Linked DNA regions of Homo sapiens: region 1 is linked to region 2. The links are contacts of gene promoters, found by promoter capture Hi-C in blood cells and fetal thymus (Javierre and others, 2016). All regions are on one chromosome and are shown on one strand. The core of a region is centred on a gene start or on the middle of the fragment in contact, and the rest is flanking DNA. Distances in the headings are between cores, read along the strand shown.

Region 1 (6,279 bases), core at 3,346-5,845, 2.1 Mb after region 2:
GAGCAATGTCACAACTATTTTTATATTTTCTTATATATTTTAGAATCAGCTTATCAAATTCCACCAAAACTAAACAGAAAAAAGAAAAATGAAACAAAACAACAATCCTCCTCCCCCAACAAATATTTCATGTTTTATTTGCTTACATCTTCTAACATTTCAATAATGTTTTATACTTTATTAAATATATACTTTTCTATGTAGAGGTCTTACATTCTTGCACATTATATTTATTCCTAAATTTTTTATATTTTATGTAGCTATTGTATATTTGTTATTTGCTCTATGGCATGCTACCATGAATCAATGGATCAACTAGATGGACGTACAGTGTTAGAATTGTGAATTTTTTTTTTTTTTTTTGACAGAGTCTCACTTTGTCACTCAGGCTGGAGTGCAGTGGCACGATCTGGGCTCACAGCAACCTCTGCCTCCCGGGTTCAAGCAATTCTCCTGCATCAGCCTCCCAAGCAGCTGGGATTACAGGCATGCACCACCACACCCAGCTAATTTTTGTATTTTTAGTAGAGACGGGGTTTCCCCATATTGGCCAGGCTGGTCACGAACTCCTGACCTTGTGATCCACCCGCCTCTGCCTCCCAAAGTGCTGGGATTACAGGTGTGAGCCACCACACCCGGCCCACGTGAATGGTTTTAATAAAACATTTAATTAGATATGGTTAAGTTGTCAAAAACAAACATTTCTCCTTGGCTTAAAAATGTTATAACACAGGGTTGGACGCAGTGGCTCATGCCTGTAATTCCAGAACATTGGAAGGCCAAGACAGAAGGACTCCTTGAGCACAGGAGTTCCAGACCAGCCTGAGCAACATAGCAAAACCTCACCTCTACTAAAATAAATAAATAAATACATAAAAGCCAGGCATGATGGCATGTACCTGTAGTCCTAGCTACTCAGGAGGCTGAGGTGCGAGGATTGCTGGACCCCAGGAGATGGAGGCTGCTGTGAGCTTGATCAAGTCACTGCACTCTAGCCTGGGTGACAGAGACCCTGTCTGGAAAAAAAAAGTGATAACACAAAACTTGCACATGAATGTTTATAGCAGCTTTATTCATAATTTTCAAAACTTGAAAGCAACCAAGATGTCCTTCAGTAGGTGAATGGATATTGACATCAGGGGTTTTTCTGGACAAATCATACACCCAGATCACCCTACAGTGAAATTCAAAAAAGTGATAACACAAAATCCATTCAGTAGGTGAATAGATACATCAGTGGTTTTCTGGACAAATCATACACCCAGATCACCCTACAGTGAAATTCAAAGTTAAAAGCACCAGCTATCTACTTGGAGCTTCCTCTCTTTGTACTTTTTAATTTTTACTTTTAATCATGGACAGCAACCAAGAAAATCCAATAATGTAGAAGGAAGGGACCCAAACAACAGACAAAGGAATATGGAGGAAGCAGATGCTGCAGGATTGGATTAACTGTAGTACGTCCCAACAATGAAGTATTATTCAGTGCTAAAAAGAAATGAGCAATCAAGCCATGAAGGGACATGGAGGAACCATAAATGCGTATTACTAAGTGAAGGAAGCCAATCTGAAAAGCTATATACTGTAAGATTCCAACTATGTGACATTCTGGAAAAGGCAAAACTATGGAGACAGTGTAAAAATCTGTGGATGCCAGTGGTTAGCAAGGAGAGAGGAATGAATAGGTAGAGCACAGATAATTTTGAGGGCAGTGAAACTATTCTGTATGATACTATAATGCTGGATACACATCATTATACATTTGTCAAAGCCCATAGAATGTACAGCACCAATATAAAATTCAATACAAATATGTAGGAATTCCTCATTTGGTTAGTATGCAGAAAAGAGTTACCGTAACAGGCCTAAGACTGCGATCTTTAGAAAGGCCTGCTTCCTGAAGGTTGGCCTGTAGGTGGATTTGGGAGTGTTCCTGCTGTTCCCTGAGTCTCTAATGAGCTTCCATGGCAGACAGCCCTTCACACATGTTACAACGTGATGCTTGTGCTTGGCCTCCTCCTGTCTTCTTCCTGTGCACTTTTTCCCTTTGCTCTTTTGCTTCATATTCTTCTGCTGTAATAAATCTTAACTGTGAGTACAACTGAGTCCTATGAGTTCTTTTAGTGCATCACTGAACCTGGAGGTGATCTTAGGGATCCCTAACACAGGTAGATATGTGTTTTCTTCTGTGTCACAGAATACAGTCTGATTCTATGAGTCAGAAGGCTCTTTTCCTTGAAAACTTGATTCAGTGCAACCATTCATGTTAAAAACATAGTTACATTTCAGTATCATGAGGGATTGGTTCCAGGACTCCCAGATACCAAAATCCATGGATGCTCAAGTCCCTTATATAAAATGGCATAATCTATGCACATCCTCCTGTACTTCAAATAATCTCTAGATTAATTATAATAATACGATGTAATGCTATGTTGACAGTGCTCTTGCCGTATTTTTATTTGCATTTTTAAATTGCTGTATTATTTGTTATTTTTAAATACTGTTATCTGACATTGGTTAAAACCATGGATGTGGAACCTCTGGTTATGGAGGTTCAATTGTACTTTTTTTTTTTTTGAGACAGGATCTTGTTTTGTCACCCAGGCTGGAGTGCAGTGGCATGATCATAGTTCACTTCAGCCTCAACCTCCCGGCTTCAAGCAATCCTCTCATCTCAGCCTCCCGAGCAGCTGGGACTACAAGCTTTTACCACCGCACTGGCACACAGGGCTAATTTTTTGCTTTTTATTTTTTGTAGAGACAGGGTCTATGTTCCCCAGGCTGGTCTCAAACTCCTGCCCTCAAGTAATCCTCCTGCCTTGGCCTGCCAAAGTTATGCAATTGCAGGTGTGAGCCACAGTGCCTGGCCTAGCTTTTCATTCTGAAAACGCGTGTTCTTCAGTCCTGGAGCCTTGATAATTACTTATTTCTTTTCTTTTCTTTTTTTTTTTTTTTTTTGGAGACAGAGTCTCACTCTGTTGCTGAGGCTGGAGTGCAGTGGTGTGATCTCTGCAACCTCCACCTCCCAGGTTCAAGCGATTCTCCTGCCTCAGCCTTCCGAGTAGCTGGGATTACAGGTGTCTGCCACCATGCCCAGATAATTTTTGTATTTTTAGTAGAGATGGGGTTTCACAATGTTGGCCAGGCTGGTCTCAAACTCCTGAGCTCAAGTGATCTGCCCACCTCGGCCTCCCACAGTGCCGGGATTACAAGCATGAACCACTGTGCCCAGCCCAAATTACTTATTTCTTCTTATTTGTACTACGCTGCTTCTCAAGCACCTTTAAGAATTATTTATTTCATCCCCTCTGTACTGCGTTTTCCAATTTTCTTATCTTTCAGAGTTTTTGCTCTACATTCCTCAGTGTTATCTTCTACTAATAGTTTTTTCACTTCTTTCTTATTTCTATTAACTTTTAAAAATCCCCTACCCCTTTTATTGCACCCTGTTGTGGCTTCATCTTCTCTTATTTTTCTGGGGCTATTATGAGAATTTTTAAAAGTGTTCTCCCTGCAGCATCTGCTTCCTCCATATTCCTTTGTCTGTTGTTTGGGTCCCTTCTTTCTACATTATTGGATTTTTTTGGTTGCTGTCCATGATTAAAAGTAAAAATTAAAAAGTACAAAGAGAGGAAGCTCCAAGTAGATAGCTGGTGCTTTTAACTTTGAATTTCACTGTAGGGTGATCTGGGTGTATGATTTGTCCAGAAAACCCGATGTCAGTATCTTTGCTCAGCCTCTTAGGTTAATCAGATAGCGAGGGGTTTCAGTTTTCAGTAGGCATAAAGCCACTTATTCTCCGTTTTAGGTGGAATACCCACTCAGCAGAGAATTTATCCCCTTCAGGGAATTCAGCCGGGGTGGGAGCCCGTGGTGGGAAAGAGGGGCAGCTGCCCAGAGACATGAAGCTGGAAAAAGGATCTAGCGATCAGAGTCCTTGAGCAGCCTTTGACTAATCTCCCCCTTTTCCGATTTACCTCTCATACTCATACTTGTGCTCTCCAGCTTCCAACATTTTGTTGCTGTTATCTCTTTGTCCTTGTGTTTAGGTTGTTAAACTTGATTTTTAACAGGAGAGTAGGCAAAATTAGATGCTTGAATTCAAACCACGATCTTAACTAAGACCTGATATCCGTAAGTAAAAATTTTTGGTATTCCAGCTTTCTTTTGAGTAGCAAAAGAAAAACAAAGTCTTTTGGCCACTCCAACCATGTTACTCAGTAGGCCCTTCCAAAGACACCCACTTCTCCATTTTGGGGATCCCCTTGTACCTTCAGACTCCACAAGGAGTACACGACCAGCCACGACAAAACGAGATGCAGACTATTGGGAGGACTATAAACGGTAGGGGTGATACCCATTTGAGTCCACGAACGGCCCTCTCGGCGCCGCAGACACTGGCTGTCCCCCGAGACGCTCCAGCAGCCACTTAACTTCACCCACCTGTAGCGCCCGGGGACGCTCGAAGCCCGACCTCCCACGCCCGCCCCGGAGCCCCGCCCCTCCCGCCCCTCCCCGCCCTTCCCGACTCTCCCCGCCCCTTCCTGCCCCGACGCGCAGCAGGCCCCGCCCACCCAGGCGGTAGGAACCCACTCCGGCCCGCTAGACCTGCTGCTATGTCCCGGCCGCAGCTTCGACGCTGGCGCCTCGTCTCTAGCCCGCCGAGCGGCGTCCCGGGTCTAGCGCTGCTGGCGCTGCTGGCGCTGCTGGCGCTGCGGCTCGCGGCCGGGACCGACTGCCCATGCCCGGAGCCTGAGCTCTGCCGCCCGATTCGCCACCATCCAGATTTCGAGGTCAGCGCCTTCCTCTGCTCCTCTAGGTCTGGGCTTCAGGGCACGAAGAGAAGTTAGGGTAGAACGGAGCCCTAAGGAGAGGTGCCGTGGGCGCCGAAACCAGCTTTGACCACTCGATGAGGGCCTTCCTGTTTACGGATCCTTCAATTTATAGATGAGGAAGCTCGGGCTCAGAGAAGTTGAGTAACTCCTCAGGCCTCACAGCCTGTAAGTGCCTGCGTAGGCAGGCGAGAGTTCAAACCAGATCTGCCTCCTAAGGCAAGCTCCTTTCATTCCCCTGCTGTGCCTCTGCGGAAGCACTCTGGGTGTAAAAAGCAAACAAGGTAGGATAATCCATTTATGTTTCCAAGGAACGAGGATTTCGTTTGAAAGAATCTCAGCACTCCAACAGTACATTAGAATGCAGAGTATTTTGCTTACCTTTAGTTTTCTATACCTGCTAGCCCTTTCCTTTAAAGTACCTCAAAACCACCCATGAAGAGTGGTAAAAAAAATAGCTTTCAGTACATTTTCCTTCTATCTACATAACAATTTGTAAGGCTTCTGGCAACTTTAATCAAACACCTTCTGGAGCAATATTAAAACCACCTGACTGCCCACTTCGATGACTGAAAGCAGGAATTGGATGACATCAGGAAGGTCCAAAGGCTTAATTCAAAGAACGATTCTTTTGTAGAAATAGGCATGATTCCTAGTTCTTAATCTAGTACATTAATCTGAGGCAGAACACTTAGATGCCAGTAAAAAAGTATATATACATGACTTAGGAGAAGAAATAAAAATGGTGAAAGTGTTTATGGAGAACCTGCCTAGTGTGGAAACCTAACATCTTATTAAAAGAAAGACTTCAGACAAAGTAGGATAACCTTTTTTATTTGAGCAAAGAACAACTTATGAATCGGCAGTACTTAAACCAGAAGGGGTTCAGAGAGGTCTGCTTTAGTAGCATGGGCTTTTATAGGCCGAACAGGGAAGCAAAGGAAAATAATTACTTGGTTGGCTATGACTGTTTGCCTTATTTAGCTATGACTTGGTGGAAAATTACTAGTTAGAGGTTAGTTGGCAGTTTCTGATAGGTTAAGCTTAAGTTTCCTTTCACTGTTGACCTTGGGCTGGAGTTTGCTTAAGCAGGAAATCCAAGGCAGTTGGAGCTGTTTCAGCATAATGGCCTCCCAATTAAAATGTTTTATACAATCTGAGGCCCAGCGCGGTGGTAGAGGCAGTGGGGACAGTAGCTGTAAAAGTTCAACCAGACATTTCTTAATTTTCTCAATCTCTTTTTGAGATTGAGAAGCACTTTGTGAGGCCAAGGTGGGTGGATCACTTGAGGTCAGGAATTCGAGAACAGCCTGGCCAACATGGTGAAACCCCGTCTCTACTAAAAATACAAAAATTAGCTGGGCGTGGTGGCGGGCACATGTAATCCGAACTACTTGGGAGGCTGAGGCAGGAGAACCGCTTGAACCTGGGAGGCGGAGCGGGA
Region 2 (6,389 bases), core at 3,890-6,389:
TGAACTCCCTCCCTAAGTAATTTGATTTGAAAAATTCTTTTTAGAAAGTCTTTGCTCTTATTTTAATGATGGTGAGCAAGGTTTTGCTTCAATAAGAATTCTGAGTTAAAAACACATCTCTTGTTCCTTTATCCACTTGAAAGATTTATCAAATAAAGTTATTCACAAAATGGCTATTTAGTACAAATAAGATTTATGACAAGTTTGAGACTATTATTATGAAGTCTCTGAGGGCAGGAACAGGGTCTCATTCAGCTTTGTATCTTTCAACGCCAAGCACCTAGGAGGTACTCAATTTATACTGGTATTAGTTAACTTCAAGGTCCGCAAACAATGTTAGAAAATACTAATAAAGATACTGTTATTTAACATGCTTATTGTTGCCCTTCAAAGATTAAACTTCACATATGGATGGTAATTTGCCTGGCTAAAATGATATAAAAGATGAACCATGTTAGATGTTGTAAGAGGGGAATAAGAAACAGAGTTGATGCCTTAGCACATACAAACTTATTAAAGAAAGTCAGAGTAACAGAACTTTAGAGTTCCAAGAGATCTAACATAACAGTTCATTAGAAGAAAAGTGCCACCTCATCATTTGGAATTGAAAATGATTCACGATTTCACAGCAAGCTCTTGTGGTCTAAGAAGCCTTATCAGCTGAGATGGATTTGAAGCTATATCTTTAAAAAAAGTTTATTTTACTTTTATTTTAAAATTTTTTTTACTCTCTCCATTTTGGAGATGAATAAAGTTGTATCTTAAGGAAAGGAAAGAATAGGCAGACAGGACACTTAAGAGGAGTCTAACCATATGAACAAAAGCCTAAAATAAGTAGAAGATATTTTGGAAATTAAAAAATAATTTGGAATACAGTGTTTATATAAGTGAGAGAAAGGACCAGATTGTAAGGGAGTATTTAATGCTCAACTAAGAAGTTTGGACTAAAAAGATGGATTCTAAGAATAAATGGCATTTAAAACTCTAGTAAAATAACAATTAAGCAAGGGTGAATTACCTGATACTTTTGTATTTTACCATCTTGAGGTACTTAAAAACAAGCACCCAAATGGGCTAGTTAAGAATAAACATTCCTACTCATTTATACATTCTAGTCTAACATTCTTTTTAAAGTACCAAGGCTTATAAACAAATTTTAAAAGGAGGGAAGTGGAGTGGTGATGGGACGCATCTATGTGCTTTACTAGTTTGAGCTGACCTTTTTTTAAAACAAGAAACATGTTTAATTTTTAACTTAGAAATTTTTAAGTAAAATGGAAAACAATGTATGGCGTTGGCCAACCAAAGAATGGCATATTCCTTACGGTACAATTTGATTTGAATGAAAATTATTATTTATAAACGTGAATGTTTCTCTCTCTACTGTTCTTACTGCTTATAAAGAGATATTGGCATAGCTCTTAAGCTATTCTTAGCATGAAACTTGGTACTTTGGCATTATACTGATGTCAATGCAATTTAATGTAGGAACTCAGTGATGAAATAAATACTGAGATGAGAAAGCAGTGTTTTGTTGAAAACTACCACACAGCATTCCAAATTTCACATGTTCTATTTTAGAAGCATCCTTTTTTTCTTACAAATTTTATCTTTAAAAAAGTATTATGGAAAATGTCAAACATACAAAAGTATAACAGTATAATGAAACCTCATGAACCCATAACCAACCTTCCACAACTATCAACATTCCGTTGCTGTTGTTTCAGCGACTTCTGTTTTTTTCTTTTGAAATATTCAAACGCTAATCTCAACTGGTGTGGTGGCTCACACCTGTAATCCCAGCACTTTGGGAGGCCGAAGCAGGTGGATCCTGAGGTCAGGAGTTCAAGACCAGCCTGACCAACATGGTGAAACCCCATCTCTACTAAAAATGCAAAATTAGCTGGGCGTGGTGGAGCCTGCCTGTAATTCCAGTTACTTGAAAGACGGAGGCAGGAGATTGGCTTGAATCGGGGAGGCGAAGGTTGCAATGAGCTGAGATCGCGCCATTGCACTCCAGCCTGGGCAACAAGAGCCAAACTCCATCTCAAAAAAAAAAAAAAAAAAAAATACCCTGTAAAAACCAAATCTCAGATATGATATAAGTTTATCCATAAACATTTCAGTATGTATCTCTAACAATTACAGACACATTAAAGAAGTCTGTTTCTCCTAAAATTTTTCCCTTAATAAACGGCTCAAGCCAAAACCTTGGAGTCATCCTTAACTCATCTTTCTCTCATACCTCACAGCCAATCCAACAGCCAATACTGGATAATTTGGAACCTTCACTGCTACCACTGTAATCTAAGTTACAATCGCCTTTTACGTGTATTATGGCCACAGCTCCTTCATTGGTCTCCTTAATGCCCCTGAAACTTCAGTCTTTGTACTTCTTCCTGCTGCCTGAAATACTTTTATTCCAAAAAAAACTAGGTCTGTCACTTCCTTGAGGTCTCTTGAATTTCATCCTATTAGAAAGACTTGCCCTGACCATCCTATCTATACACGATACTAATGTTAGAAAATACTAATAAAGATATTAACAACCACCATCTCTGCGTTATTCTATTCTTCTGGCCATGATTTTTATCACCACCTGATGTATTTACAAGCTTATCTTCCGCTACAATGTAAGCTTCAGGAGGGCAGACACTTTGCTGATTTTATTCACTGCTGTATCACCAGTGTCCACAGTAGCCACAAGCAGACATCAGACATGCAGTAGACACTTAAATATTTAAAACTGAAAAGAAAATTATTTGATGGCTAACAGATTAGCATAAAATTTAAAACTTTTTCCTAAAGAATTTGAAACAAGGAATTAAAATTCTTTGGGAAGTACACATTTTGAGAGCTTTGCTAGATTTAATTTTTTAAATTGAGTCTATCCACAATTTAAATCAGACTAAATTCTAGTAAATGTGTCCTCTTTAAGGGGTGTGAGTTATACGTCTGAAACATATTTAACTGTATTTAAAAGAGTAGCATTATACAGTGTCAAATCCTCATAAGCATCTAGAATTATAGGTAATGAGCACTAGGACAAACAAAAATACCAAGGGCTCTAGTCCTCTATTGCAGTCAATGTTAAAAGTGTACAAGTGTCTCACACATCAAAATTCATTTCACACCCTCAATCACTCATTCTTCTTGCACCTTGTCTTTGAACTATTAGAAGCTAGTGAATTTAAATCAAAACATTATTTTAACTATAAAGGCTCAACGTCTACAATATATCATATTTTAGGGAAGGAAGGGAAGAAAAGGGTTAAGGCAGCTAGCTTATTACTCACCATGCAGATTTTAGAACTTAGAAATCAAAAGCTAGAAGGAATTTACCATCTCTAAAGTGTTACTTGCTTGTTGATATGGAAATGCTCAGATTGAACCAGATGATTTTTAAGGTCTCTCTAGGCCACAGCATTCTATTATTCTAGCTATCTTAAATCTGGAATGCTTATCCCGGAAGAAAAAGCAGCTGGGAGTACTAGGTCAGACAGCACCTGGTTATTTACTAGTTGTGCAAGTTTCTTAACCTCAGTAAGGCTGCTTCCTCACATATATAAAAGGGGTTAATAACATCTATCTGGCAAAGTTATGGAAAAGACTGGAGATAATATGTCAAATGCATTACAAAGTGCTTGACAGGTTTTTCATAATATAGGCAGCTATTACCTTGCTCTAGCTCTACTACTCTTTTGCCAGGGATAGTGCAATGTAGGATCAACTGTGCCAACAAAATTGGGGCAAAGGCAAGGAAAGTAGTAAAGCCACAGAACAGATTTACATTTCAGCACCAATTTGGTATGCATATTAGAAAATTATTTTTGTTTTCTTTTTACAAAAGAGAATGTTGTTGCTACCGTGACCGTAAACACCAGATTGTTTATAATTCATGTTGTGAAATTTACATCTGTTCACAGATTTACTGAGTTGGCATAACATGGGTGATGACTGTGGGAAACGGCCCAAGTTCCTTAGTACTGACACTTCCTTGATTGTAGAATATCGAGAGGTAGTCAACTTTTCCCCTTAAAGTATATTTAAAACATACTACTGTGACTACAGCCATAACAATATCCCCGCATCTCTCCTTGATCTACAGCTGGTGCTTCCCATTTTGAAAAAGAGTGAAAACCCCCCAACCCTAGGTTTCTTGTGGTCTTGGCAAAGTCTCAACGCCAACTGGCGATCTCCATTTCCCCCGCGGGCTGCCAAGCCCAGGACAGTCCTTTCAGGGAGAAAGAGGGCCGGAGGGAACTGTGTTGGCAGCTCTCTGGGTTGAAGGACAGGAAAAGGAAACTCCCTTCTTGGACTCCGAGGGGAGGGTGAGAGACGAAAGGAAAGGGTGGGGGGTAGTGCAAGAATGGCCTGTGTCTCGGTTACCGCAAAGGACTCGCAAGCCTCCGCCAGCCCCGGGGTGGAGGCCACAGGAGCACTGACGTCGTGGTATCAGAAAGGCGGACAGTGCAGCCTTAGTGTTCCCCAGGGGTGGGAGGAAGCTCCCGGCCCCGTCCCCACCCCGCCTCGCTTCCCAGGGAGCGGCGGTTGGGCAGGAGCGGGGCAGAAATCCGCCGCCGGGCCCGGGGAGGGGACCAGGCCGCGCCCATCTCCCAGGCCTCTGGCTGCAGCAGGCCCGCTGGGTGGTCGGCGAGGCCCGGGGGCGCCGCGTCGAGCTGCGGTCCCCTCCCTCAACCTTCCCGGGCGCCGCCACCCCTTTTCCCCCCAGCACCAGGGTACCTGCACGGCGCGACTGAGGAAGGTGCCTGCGTCGGCCGCCAGCTTCTTCACGTTGAAGTCCATGATATTCATCCTAGGCGGCAGCCGGGCGGAGCCGGCCGACCTAGCGGCGGCGAGGCGGAGGTGCCGCGGCCGGGCTGGGGCGCAGGGCTAGAGCGGCGAGGGCAGACGTGGTAGGTGGAGGGAGGCGGCGCCAGCCCCGCAGCCGCAGCTGTCGTTTCCGTGAACGGGGAGGATGAAGGCGGGGCGAGGGAGGAGAACAAGCGCGCGGCGGCAGCGCCAAGGATGGGTCAGTCGGCTCGGAGAACGGCCGCTAACGTCGACGATGGGCCCCGCGGGCGAGCCGGAGATGGACGGGCGACCCCGCCGTGTGGACCCGGGTCCCAAGGGAAAAACAAGCGCGGGCCGCGGGGCGGAGCCTTTCTCGAGGTTATCGCGGGAACAGCGACCCCTTGAGGATTGCGGCGGCGCAGCCCCGGGGCGCGCCGGGAGCTCCGCCCGGCTCCTGTGGAGGAAGCGGCGAGGGCGAGCCGCGGGGTCTCGGCGCCTCTGTATGCTTGCACTTAACGAGAACCCAGAGCGAACACGACCCACATTTCTCTTTTTGTTTTAAGAGGAAATATAGGAGTTACAGCATAGAATTACAATATCTGGACATTAGAAATAACAGGTCCCGGTCACGGTATGGCACCGCGCGACACACTTGGTCCCTGAGGCCTGGATGCCGCTCAGCAAACGTTCGCGGAATAGGGTTGGGTTTACTGTCCCCCACCGAGCCGGTTGCTCATTCATTCAGCATAATTGAATACCTCCTGTGTGCCAGGCACTGAATCAAGTGTCGGAGACAATGTCCTGCCCTCAAGCTCCTGGCCGGTTACTTGACAACCTTCCGGGACCTCAACGCTATGTGCCTACTGTGTGAAAGCAAAGTGCCAGGTGGAGGACACAAAGATGGCGAGCGACACAGGATAGTCCTTAACAATTAAGCGTGACTAATTTTAATAACAAATGAGAATATGATGTGACATCCGTTCCAAATCCTGTCGTTCCAAGTAACTTCTTAAGCATCTTTCACGATACAGCCTCTGCTTGAAAGGAATTAAAACAGGTACAAGCATGGAAGGAGACGTTGCTATCATATTTCAAGAATAAGAAAATGCTGTTTTGTGTGGTTGTGCAGCAGGCAATGAAATGAGCTTACATTCAAGCTTCCGTGTTTTACTGAAACAACAGTCACAGATGCAGTAGATGTTAAAGGTTGAAAGACGAGTGCAGTAAAAGCATTATGAGGACAAGAAGAAAACGTAAATATTTGTGTTGTTTCATTCTTTGTTGTGGTGGCAGAAACAGCCCCCTCTTTCTAAGGTAACTCCAATATAATGATCTCTCCCAGCTTTGAAATACTCCATGTCTGTTTCATTTTCCAGAAATATGGAAAAATGAATATATAATAAAAAACCCTATTTCTCATTTATTGTCTATTTTAGATCTTTATGTGGAAAAGCACTTACTCTCTTCCCAGAGCACTGTTTTTAAAGTAGGTATATTTGCCATAACCTATGCTCGTCTCTACAAAAGGATCACACCACCGTGTCCACCATTAAAGGGGAAATTCTTTAATGGTGGACACAGTGGTGTCCCTGAAT

The links. Contacts are between HindIII fragments. The CHiCAGO score rates a contact against its expected background, and 5 or more counts as called.
Region 1: a contact is called between the fragment with the promoter of CTBS here and the fragment with the promoter of SH3GLB1 in region 2, in 1 of 17 cell types (activated CD4 T cells). The highest score is 5.2, in activated CD4 T cells.

Annotation. Positions count from the first base shown.
Region 1 is chr1:84,572,756-84,579,034 of GRCh38, reverse strand. It overlaps CTBS (chitobiase), which reads left to right and starts at 4,595. Exons shown (of 7, transcript NM_004388.3): 1 at 4,595-4,796. The coding sequence starts at 4,620. It overlaps LOC105378819 (a long non-coding RNA gene), which reads right to left and starts at 1,019. Exons shown (of 2, transcript XR_947544.4): 1 at 900-1,019. RefSeq lists silencers at 490-689, 4,463-4,582 and enhancers at 4,743-5,032, 5,143-5,242, 5,956-6,005. The HindIII fragment of the contact is 3,172 bases long and covers 2,709-5,880 here.
Region 2 is chr1:86,703,326-86,709,714 of GRCh38, reverse strand. It overlaps SH3GLB1 (SH3 domain containing GRB2 like, endophilin B1), which reads right to left and starts at 5,139. Exons shown (of 9, transcript NM_016009.5): 1 at 4,744-5,139. The coding sequence starts at 4,815. CLCA4-AS1 (CLCA4 antisense RNA 1) reads left to right here and starts at 5,222. Exons shown (of 5, transcript NR_135837.1): 1 at 5,222-6,108. RefSeq lists a silencer at 4,486-4,975 and enhancers at 4,800-5,301, 5,866-5,935. The HindIII fragment of the contact is 3,313 bases long and covers 2,641-5,953 here.